2 separate regions of the Homo sapiens genome follow, and region 2 is linked to region 1. The links are contacts of gene promoters, found by promoter capture Hi-C in blood cells and fetal thymus (Javierre and others, 2016). All regions are on one chromosome and are shown on one strand. The core of a region is centred on a gene start or on the middle of the fragment in contact, and the rest is flanking DNA. Distances in the headings are between cores, read along the strand shown.

The links. The method cuts DNA at HindIII sites, captures the fragments that hold promoters and counts their contacts. A CHiCAGO score of 5 or more calls a contact.
Region 2: a fragment that was not itself captured here is called in contact with the fragment with the promoter of KAT2B in region 1 in 1 of 17 cell types (total CD4 T cells); the score reaches 5.2 in total CD4 T cells.

The regions. Positions count from the first base shown.
Region 1 is chr3:20,037,708-20,042,527 of GRCh38, forward strand. It overlaps KAT2B (lysine acetyltransferase 2B), which reads left to right and starts at 2,739. Exons shown (of 18, transcript NM_003884.5): 1 at 2,739-3,073. The coding sequence starts at 2,771. RefSeq lists silencers at 2,001-2,640, 2,811-2,940, 3,141-3,200 and enhancers at 2,364-3,334, 4,051-4,240. The HindIII fragment of the contact is 5,734 bases long and covers 118-4,820 here.
Region 2 is chr3:4,492,458-4,497,277 of GRCh38, forward strand. It overlaps ITPR1 (inositol 1,4,5-trisphosphate receptor type 1), which reads left to right and starts at 891. Exons shown (of 62, transcript NM_001378452.1): 1 at 891-1,148; 2 at 1,974-2,049. ITPR1-DT (ITPR1 divergent transcript) reads right to left here and starts at 706. Exons shown (of 2, transcript NR_108075.1): 1 at 327-706. RefSeq lists silencers at 960-1,229, 2,528-2,822. The HindIII fragment of the contact is 1,240 bases long and covers 1,314-2,553 here.

The DNA of each region.
Region 1 (4,820 bases), core at 1,489-3,988:
ATGTTATTATATTTTTATAAAGGTCATTGTGTATAACAGGTATAAAATATTCTGTTGTGTGAATATACCACAAGTAACCTCCAGTGGTCAGCCTGCCTCTACCATGCCCACTCTCCAAGCTTTTATTTTCTGAATGTAGCTTCTTTACCTCAGTAAGTGGTAAATACTTTGTAAATGAAAACATTGCCTTTTATTTTCTTGGTAGTTATTTCTTAAAAGTACTGTGTGCACAGAAAGAGCACACTGAATGCTTACAACAACCTAATTATGGAAAAGCAATAAGCCTCCTGAATCCTTTGCCCTTGAAATTTCCTTGCCTGGTGCTCATAACACACTTTGAATAGGTCTTGAAACCACGGGCCTTCAGCCTAAGGCAGTATGTCATCTGGGTACTCTGAGCAGGGAAATAATGAAAAATAATGTTCAGTTAATGGCACAAGCCATTCGCCACTCAGACAGTGATGGTTTTCAGAGTGGATTGAAAGGAGATTGGCTACTTCTGCTTCAAAACATCCTGGAAATTGTCTGCCTCCTGAATTCTGAGGGACGCTTGGGAGGAGGAGTTGATAGGTGACTTAATGTTAAATCTGGGTTCCCTCCCCCAATTGTCACTGTGAAAATTTTCAAACATACAGAAAAGTTGAAAGAATTGCGCACTGTGCCCATTACCTAGACTCTATTATATGGACCCCTATTTGCTTTATCATATCTCTGTTCATCCACCCTTTACCCATGCATGGAGGCATCCATACATCTTATTTTTGATGTATCTCAAAGTACAAAGAGCACCATTAGAGTTCAATGCTTGTGATTTTTCTTTTTTTAAAAATTTTTGAGGCAACATTTATATCCAGTGAAATGTACAGATCTCAAGTGGATCATTCCATCAGTTTGACAAATGCCTGCAAGGTGGAACCCAAGCTCTTATTAGTATCTGTTAAATCCATGTTAGAGGTTGATCAGAGAAGCACAGCCTTTAAGACTCTCACCCTGCTTTGCGGAGAATGGCAAAAATCTGCGAAACATCTCAGCAGAGCCAGGAGAGAGTAACACTGGTAACGTGAAGCACGTCAAGCTAAGAAAGGAAGCACTGAAATTAATTGTCCTGAATGGAACCTGATAAGAATCTGCCATTTCATCCCCTCAAGACTGGACTCAAGTTGGGAGAGAATATTGCCTTTTGCCCTGTCTAAGCTAATATCACTGTTTAGATCTACAAACTCCCCCACCTCCCAATGTTTATATATTAACCTGCATTACAAGTCAAAATAACACAGAGAATCTGGAAAAAGAAGAAGGGGAATGTTTCCCACGAAAAGCACACCCCTTAAAGCGTCTGGCCTGAGAGCTATACAGCATGCATAAAATCTGATAATAAGCACATTATGACCCACATTGCATATAACAAAAAGTAGGGCACTTCTGAAGGGTCCTGAGAAAAAGCCCTGGGCTTTTAAAACCTGCTTAAGAAGGCGATCAACGGTACACCACTTTCAAACGCAGCACTGACTTGTATGCTCCACAGTCATCAACAGTGAAAACAACAGTTTTCAACAAGAGTTGGAAACACTGAGTTGAGGGTTTTTTTTTTCTTTTTAAAGTTTGAGGCCAAAATCGATATTTATTCTTTTGAATTATGCTTATATCTTTTTCCTGGTTAATACGCACGCGGTGGCACAATTTTGAAAACTACGTAACGTTATAGAACCACCACCCAGAAACGAATCCTGTTAACAAACTTTTTGTATTCAAACTTTTTCCACTGCATAGTTTTTGACAATGCTTTTTAGACAATCTTTCTTTTAGCAACCAGCACTTTCAAACAAAAATTACAGAGAATAGTAAGTTTTTTTCCCCTCCTCCGGCAGATTTGACCCAGAAATTGCTATGGGAAGAAAGTGTTAATTATATTAAAAAATAGTTTGACAGAAAGTATTTAAAAAGAGAAAGGGAGAACATCACGTCTTTATTTTGGTGAATTAGCAACAAAGAAAAAGATTAGCATGGACGGGTACTTTTCAAAAATATATTTTTTTTCCTCTGGCTCCCGCTAGGGTGGAGGAAGTTGTCTCTCTGTCAGAGACAGGGTGGAAGAGAGTGAAAGGACAAATGATTGAGAGGCTGCCCCCTCCCACTGGTGCAGGCGTGCGGGGGTCGGATGGGGGGCCGCGGAGGGGGGAGGTGGCCAGCAGGTGCCTGGGCTCCAGGCCCCTACCCCCACCCTCGTCCCCACCCTCACCCACACCCAGGGATTGGCCTCGCCCCCTGGCGGGCGAGCGGTAGGTGTCGAAGCACTGGGGTGGGGGGTGCAAACCCCGCGGGCAGCGGAAAAGAGGCCGTGGGGGGCCTCCCAGCGCTGGCAGACACCGTGAGGCTGGCAGCCGCCGGCACGCACACCTAGTCCGCAGTCCCGAGGAACATGTCCGCAGCCAGGGCGCGGAGCAGAGTCCCGGGCAGGAGAACCAAGGGAGGGCGTGTGCTGTGGCGGCGGCGGCAGCGGCAGCGGAGCCGCTAGTCCCCTCCCTCCTGGGGGAGCAGCTGCCGCCGCTGCCGCCGCCGCCACCACCATCAGCGCGCGGGGCCCGGCCAGAGCGAGCCGGGCGAGCGGCGCGCTAGGGGGAGGGCGGGGGCGGGGAGGGGGGTGGGCGAAGGGGGCGGGAGGGCGTGGGGGGAGGGTCTCGCTCTCCCGACTACCAGAGCCCGAGAGGGAGACCCTGGCGGCGGCGGCGGCGCCTGACACTCGGCGCCTCCTGCCGTGCTCCGGGGCGGCATGTCCGAGGCTGGCGGGGCCGGGCCGGGCGGCTGCGGGGCAGGAGCCGGGGCAGGGGCCGGGCCCGGGGCGCTGCCCCCGCAGCCTGCGGCGCTTCCGCCCGCGCCCCCGCAGGGCTCCCCCTGCGCCGCTGCCGCCGGGGGCTCGGGCGCCTGCGGTCCGGCGACGGCAGTGGCTGCAGCGGGCACGGCCGAAGGACCGGGAGGCGGTGGCTCGGCCCGAATCGCCGTGAAGAAAGCGCAACTACGCTCCGCTCCGCGGGCCAAGAAACTGGAGAAACTCGGAGTGTACTCCGCCTGCAAGGTACGCGCTCGCCGCTCTCGGACCGCGGATGGGTGCTAGGGGCCCAGCCCGCGGGACCCCCCTCCCCCTCCCGCTTCCACCTCCGCCTCCCGCCTCCTGCCTCTCGCCTCCCGCCTGGGGCCGCTGCACCGCGGAAGTGCTCTTGTCGCCCGCGCCCAATTAGCTTCTTCTTGGATAAGAGTCCTGCTGGGTTTGAAGAAGGGGGATCACTAAGACGGAGAGCCCTTCATTCCTTCCGCTTGAAAGGAGTAGCTTCGGCATCCGAGCTCCCGGGCTACCTTGGGGTTTTGTTGCTCTGTAGGAGCTCGCTGGAGTCACTTTCCCGGGAGTGGAGCGGTGCTCTCCATGTGGCGGGTGACCCAGGGGCAAGGAAAAATCTTTTGGGGGACTGAGTGGTCCCTTCTGCAATCGATCCCTTCCTGTGTCCCACTGGGAGGAACTGGGTGCAAGGAGTGGGGGTGGAGAAGACTCCCGGACTCCTGGCGCTTTGGGAAAGCGAAGGGGAGGAAAGCGCGGGGTGGGAAGGTGGGCAGAGTCCGAGGCGAGGGTCTTGTGGTGCCTGGCGCCCTCGGCTGGGGGCGGAGGCACTGCCGCGCGCGGTGACAGCCCTGTCATTATTGTATTATTACTTGTTTAGTTAAAACGCTGTCCCAGCTGCTCGAGGTGTAAACAGGATTTGGCAAAGTGACAGCCCAGCGCGGCGGGCGCTACTGCTCAGTTTGAGGACACCCATTTCTTGCTACCCACTCTCCATGCCAGTTTAGGCACCCTGTCACCTCCAGCTGCAGATCCAGATGTGGAGGCTGTGTTCCCGAGGTGGGAGGATTGCCCGAGGCCGCGGGGCAGGCTGGCCCTGCGCTGTCAGCAGCGGCTTTGTTTTGACAGGGTGACAGCTGAGGGGGGCGGGGACTTGGCCTTGTCAGCTCCTGCGGCCTGTGGCTGAGGCAGGGAAGAGACACACTCACACACACTCACACCTCCCTGTATTCTTCCTGCCTGCTGTAAAGAGGGTCAAGTTCCCAGATTCCAGATTCCCGATTGTCACAACCAAGCTGCAGTGACCACTTCTGAATTTTGACATAACTATAATTTATTCTACTAGAACATCTAGGTTATACTCTTCTTGGTACTTGCAGGAGCTTCTCAGTCACAATGGAATGTCTATGCTTGCTCTTTTTCCACACCATATGCTCAGGTTTATGTTAAGCACCTCTGTATCCTACACTGGTTCAATAAATATTTGTTGAGTGAATGTAGGATCTAGCCCAGTGCTCCTCAAACTTTAATGTGCATGGGAATCTCCTGGGGAAGCTGGTTAAAATGCTGATTATGAATCAGGTGGTCTGAGGTGGAAGCTGAGAGTTTGCATTTCTGACAAACTCCCAAGTGATGCTATGCTAGTCCACAGACCACATTCCAATTCAGACCTGGACAATATATTATTTGTCCCCTTTGATTTTAGCAGAAAAGACAGAAACAAATAATAATGCTATGTGGTTATTTCTGAAGAAGGAATGCAAAAAAGATGAAGTGGGGAGTGTGCTTCTAAGAAAGGTGCAAGCCCAGGAGTTGATCATGAAGGGCATTAGACGAATGAGAACAGGACACCGACTGTAGTAGGCAGAAGGGCGAGCTATGTACAGAATTAAGAACAAGGTCATGGGTACAGGGCATACTGCTTGGGTGATGACTACACCAAAATCTCACAAATCACCATTAAAGAACTTATGTAATCAAACACCACCTG
Region 2 (4,820 bases), core at 684-3,183, about 16 Mb before region 1:
CACCTTGCCCCATTCGGAGCTCTTGGAGAGCGCCCCGCCTGGATGCGCATCTCTGTGTGAGCGGCTCTTTCCTAAGCCCTTATTTTTCTGGTTTGCGGTTTATTTACTTAAGCATTTACAGCTCCCAGGAGCAGAGGGGCTGCTAGAGGTACGGTCAGGACTGAGGTCGCGGTTTGTATTTATTTTCTGCCTCCCAATCTCAGAGCCGGCAAGTCACAACACGGCTCCTTTATTTGTGCACCGGAGAGGTCTGCCTTTCTTTACCTCCTCACGGGCGATAAAAGACAAGCAACTCGGGCTCAGAAAAGTGCTCTCACGCGACTTGCCTGTGTCTCCGCTTGCGTGGACCGTCGCTCCCAGGCTTGGTTTCTCGTGCAAACCCGAGCAGGGCGGAGCAGATTAAATAAAGACACCTCGCGCCTTTAATCCTTGACCGCAAACACTGGCGTTTTTGTGCCCCGGATTTCTGAAATTCTTGGCTCGGGGAACCAAGGCAGGGGGAGGGTGGGCTTGTAAAAACTTCCCAAAGCAGAAATCCGAGCTCCTAGCCCCTCCCCGGCCCCAGTGACACCTGGATTCCAGGGAAGGGGGGCAGCCGGAGGAGAGGCGTCCCCAAGGGTTGCGGGCGCTTCCCAGGGGTGACTTTGAACGGCTGGCTCCAAGCCCTACCGACCCCAGCCAAGGAACAGGCTCAGCAGCCTGAAAGCCTCGCAGGACGCCCCTCCCCTGTCCCCGCACGCGTCTATTTAGGGCCCAGCCCGGGCGCCCAGGGGATTCTGGGACTTGTAGTCCCTCCCCGCAGCCTCAGGCGCCGCCACGACCCGCTACTTGGACTACATTGCCCAGGGAGCTTCCCGGCCTATATAAGCCACCCGGAGCCGCTTTAAAGTGCAGTAACCATGTGGATGTGCTGCTGAAGCGTTTCCTCAAGCTCGCTGGGGTGGGAGGAGAGGAGGAGGAGGAGGTGGTGGTGGAGGAGGAGGCAGGGGGTGGAGAGAGAGAAAGCGCACGCCGAGAGGAGGTGTGGGTGTTCCGCTTCCATCCTAACGGAACGAGCTCCCTCTTCGCGGACATGGGATTACCCAGCGGCTGCTAACCCCTCTCCTCGCCCTGCTCCCCCAAACCGGCGTGGCTCCCCGGGCACCAAGGTAGCGGCTGGGGCCGGGCAGAGGGCGCGGGGAGTTGGCACTGGCTCCCCGGGCGCAGAAGTTTTTGCCCCGCTCTCGGGGAGATCTTGATGGATGTGCATGCACTTGGCATGCATTTGGGGGTTCCTTTACTGCGGGCAGTTGTTTTGGGGGGAGCTCATTTGAAGCTTAAAAAACAAATATCCTCTACTCTAGTGCGTGGCTTTGGGGGCTCCCCATTCTGGTCTGATGTGGCATTCCCCCAAGTTGGAAACTGTTGCTGCAGCTGCAGGAAATAGTTCTTTTTTTTTTTTTTTTTTTGAAGAGAGGTTGTGGGGGTGTCATATGTGAGTCTGCTCAAGGAAATAATCTTTCTAAAAATGTATCCCTCTCTTGCGCTCCGTGGTTGGGAGAATAATGCATGTGTAGGGGCCCCCCGTGGGGAGGGTTTTTAAAAACGGAAGAAAACCGGAGAAGCGGTGAGGGATGAAGTGTGGACGAAGCTCATGTCCAATGAGGATGCGGGCTTCGGATACTTGGCCTTCTCGCCGGGAAACAAGTGCTTTGGGATCTGCCAAACACTTCCCTTAGTTCCAGCCTCCCGCACGTTCGAAGTTTGTGCGTGCCTAGTCTCAATTGTCAGTTACATCCTGGAAATAAGTAAGCGTAGTTACCTGGAATCTTCGCCCAAGCGATCCCACCAACCTGCCTACCAAGTTTGGGGGCGGGGGGGCTGTCCCCAGTGAAGGAGGCTAAAGAAGGTGGAAACTTGTAATTTGGAGCATTTCTGTTAGAGCTCATCTTCCGCGGTCTGGTACTCAGTCTTCTTTCTTTCTAAATATTTAGGAGCTGACTACAGAGGAGCAGGATTTGCACCCCTCGCTGGGCTTGCTTTGGCAACAGAGTGCCTGACCCAGGTCAGGTGAGTGTGGAAGCCTGAGTGCTGTAGTCAATAATGAGTTTTTGTCCTAAGCCTATTTTAAGTTCTATCTAAACCGCCAAGGAGGTGGGGAGTAAGAAAGAAAAAGAAACTCCGTGGCTCAGTCTTCAAAATTTGCCTCTGCCTTTGGTGAGGGCTTTTGGGAGCAGAGGTCCAGTGGACAGTCCGTTTCTTGGAAGTAGCTGAGAATTGAAGGAGCCTGAAAGTTTATGAGAGAGGAGGGGAAAAGGCCATTAAATGGAGCAATAAAACGGCGGCCCATTGCCGGTCTGAAAAGCATGCTGATGATTTAAATTCTGAAGGATACAGTGCATTTCATATGCCAAAATGTGTAAGCAGTATTAACTGCCTCTCTCCTTCAAGAAATAGTCACTCTTTTCTAATTTTGAACGTGTGCTTAATCAGAGTAGGTTGGATTGCAAGAAATGAAAGTGGTTGCTGCAAGTTGAAAGAATTAGAACTTTAAAAAGGGAAGTGAGTTATTGAAGCTTAAGGTGGTAGCATCCAGCCCTTGACTCAAGCCACCTGAGTGTCAAGGAATCTGGCAGGTCCCTGTTGTTTTGGGGCCCGTGGTGGAATATGAGCTGAGAGCAGCATTTATCTGTAAACACAACAGTTCCTATTTTTTCCCCAAAATGGTCAGACTGCATTTGAAGAGTGGGAGGTTTCAACGGGTGCACGTACATCACTATTGCTGCAGATTTGGCTATCAGGAGTTTTTTCTCCTGAAATGTTCAGGAACATGGTAAATAACAGGGTAACAGAGGTAGGTGGGGGTGGGTGGCTGGGTCTTAATAACTTTTTTAACATTCTAAATATTTAGCTGTTCCCTGGGCTACAATCTTTGGGCTTTTCTAATGAGAAAATAAAAGTCAGACACTTCATTATAGTGGTATAGTGCTTTTGTTTCCTGTTGATAAGATCCTCAGGAGTACTGGCGGAGTGAGAAGCATTTGGATGTGAGAACTCTAGTTTCTTCTTGGAGTTCTGTTGACTCACATGGCTGTGTGGGTGCTCATAGAGCCAAGGATTAGGCCCAGTTCCCCTTTTCAGAATTAGCTGTACAGCAAGGAAAAACTGGTCCACAGACTCTTTTCTAACTGGTTGCTAAAAATAATAAGATGGACACATTAAGTACTTGTAAGCCAGGTCCAGAGCCATGTATCTCAGAAACCCTGTGCGTCAGATGCAGGTGAAGAAACTGAGGTGCAGAGAGTGAAATCACTTGCCCAGTAGCTAGTACAAAGTAGGAGCAGGGTGTAACCTCAGGCGGTGAGGCTGTACTGCATCCCACAAATGGACCTCAGTTGATTTGGGGATGCTGGTGGTGAGAGGGAAGCTAGGAAAAATGGTAAACTTACTGCTACTGATGAAATAACTTGCATACCTCCCACCAATGATGAAATAATACATAACATTGATGTAAGAAGGAAAGGATGTAGCCACAAACATAGGGATAAAAGAGTGCAGATATTTGAGGAGGTATTAGATACTGTAATGAGTTCATTTTGGAAAGCCTGAATGGGGAGAGTAAAAAGAAACAAAACCACAAGGAACATTATGTAAGTTAAGCATTAGGCTCACCTCCTAGCTGAAATACATCTTGATTGTTTACATCAAAGAATCTGAGTAGGTTAAAAGGATCAGGCGTTTCCCCATCTGAATAATTCGAAAGTTTAAACTGCAGTTAGACTGCAATGTGAAATGTTGATACCTTTTCATATACCTTCCAGTTTGCTTTGCAGCCAGTTGTGCAGACGTTTTTGTTCTCCATTTTTTCTTTCAAGTTCATGTGTGTGTGTGTGTGTGTGTATGCATATGTACACTGAAAGTACAATCTGCTCTTTGAATAATTCAAATCAGAACAGAAAATCCTTTCAAGATATCATTCTTATCAGGCAGGGAAAGTTCTTCATGTTCTAAGTGAATTACTCTGGCTCTTGCCTTGAGACCCATGAAAGTCATTTGGGGTTGACAATGGTATCTATTTAAACCAAGTGATTGTCTTTTGGAGGGAATTGGCATCTTTTCTTTAGGAATGAGAAGTGGAATGGTTGCTTAGAAAAAAAGAGATAGATGAACTCCACAGAAAGATCAAGAGTCTTTTCTTCAAAATATTTTTAAGTGAGGAAGATCAGGGTGTTGGTATTGCGGGGAGGGAGGAGAGTGGGCAGAGAGAAAGATAAAAAAGAAACCTTTAATCCAATGGTGTGCAACCAACTGACTTCCAGAGGGGGGAATATCACATGGCTTTTCAACTCATTTATAAAGATATCATGGAAACTGTCTGATTTCTTCATGAGCAGCTCTTAGAAAACAAACAAAAATAAAACAAACACCAAATATGAACAACAGAAAAAAACAGCCAAAATAAAAGTAGGCCTGGAGTTAGGTTTCTAGGTCAAGCTGTCTTTGGCTACATCTAATTAAGGAGTCTCCACAGGGCCAGTGTCTATCTTGTTTACTATTGGTTTGATTTTTAAAAATAAAACACATTGCATTTGCAGGCTGTCTGTTAACCAGAAGTCCATGCAGTTTTTTTTTTTTCCATTTTTGCTGTTTTAAGTTTGTGCATAGCTCAATTGATGAATGCAATTAAGGCTTGAAGTCGGTGATGTGAATGACATAACTTCTATGATTCCTTACAATTCTCTTGGTTTCTGTGGTTCTGAGATGATTGCTAATGAGAATAAGCCAGATACACCACTGAAACCGTCACCCATTCAACTTTGAGATTTCTAAATTGGATGTAG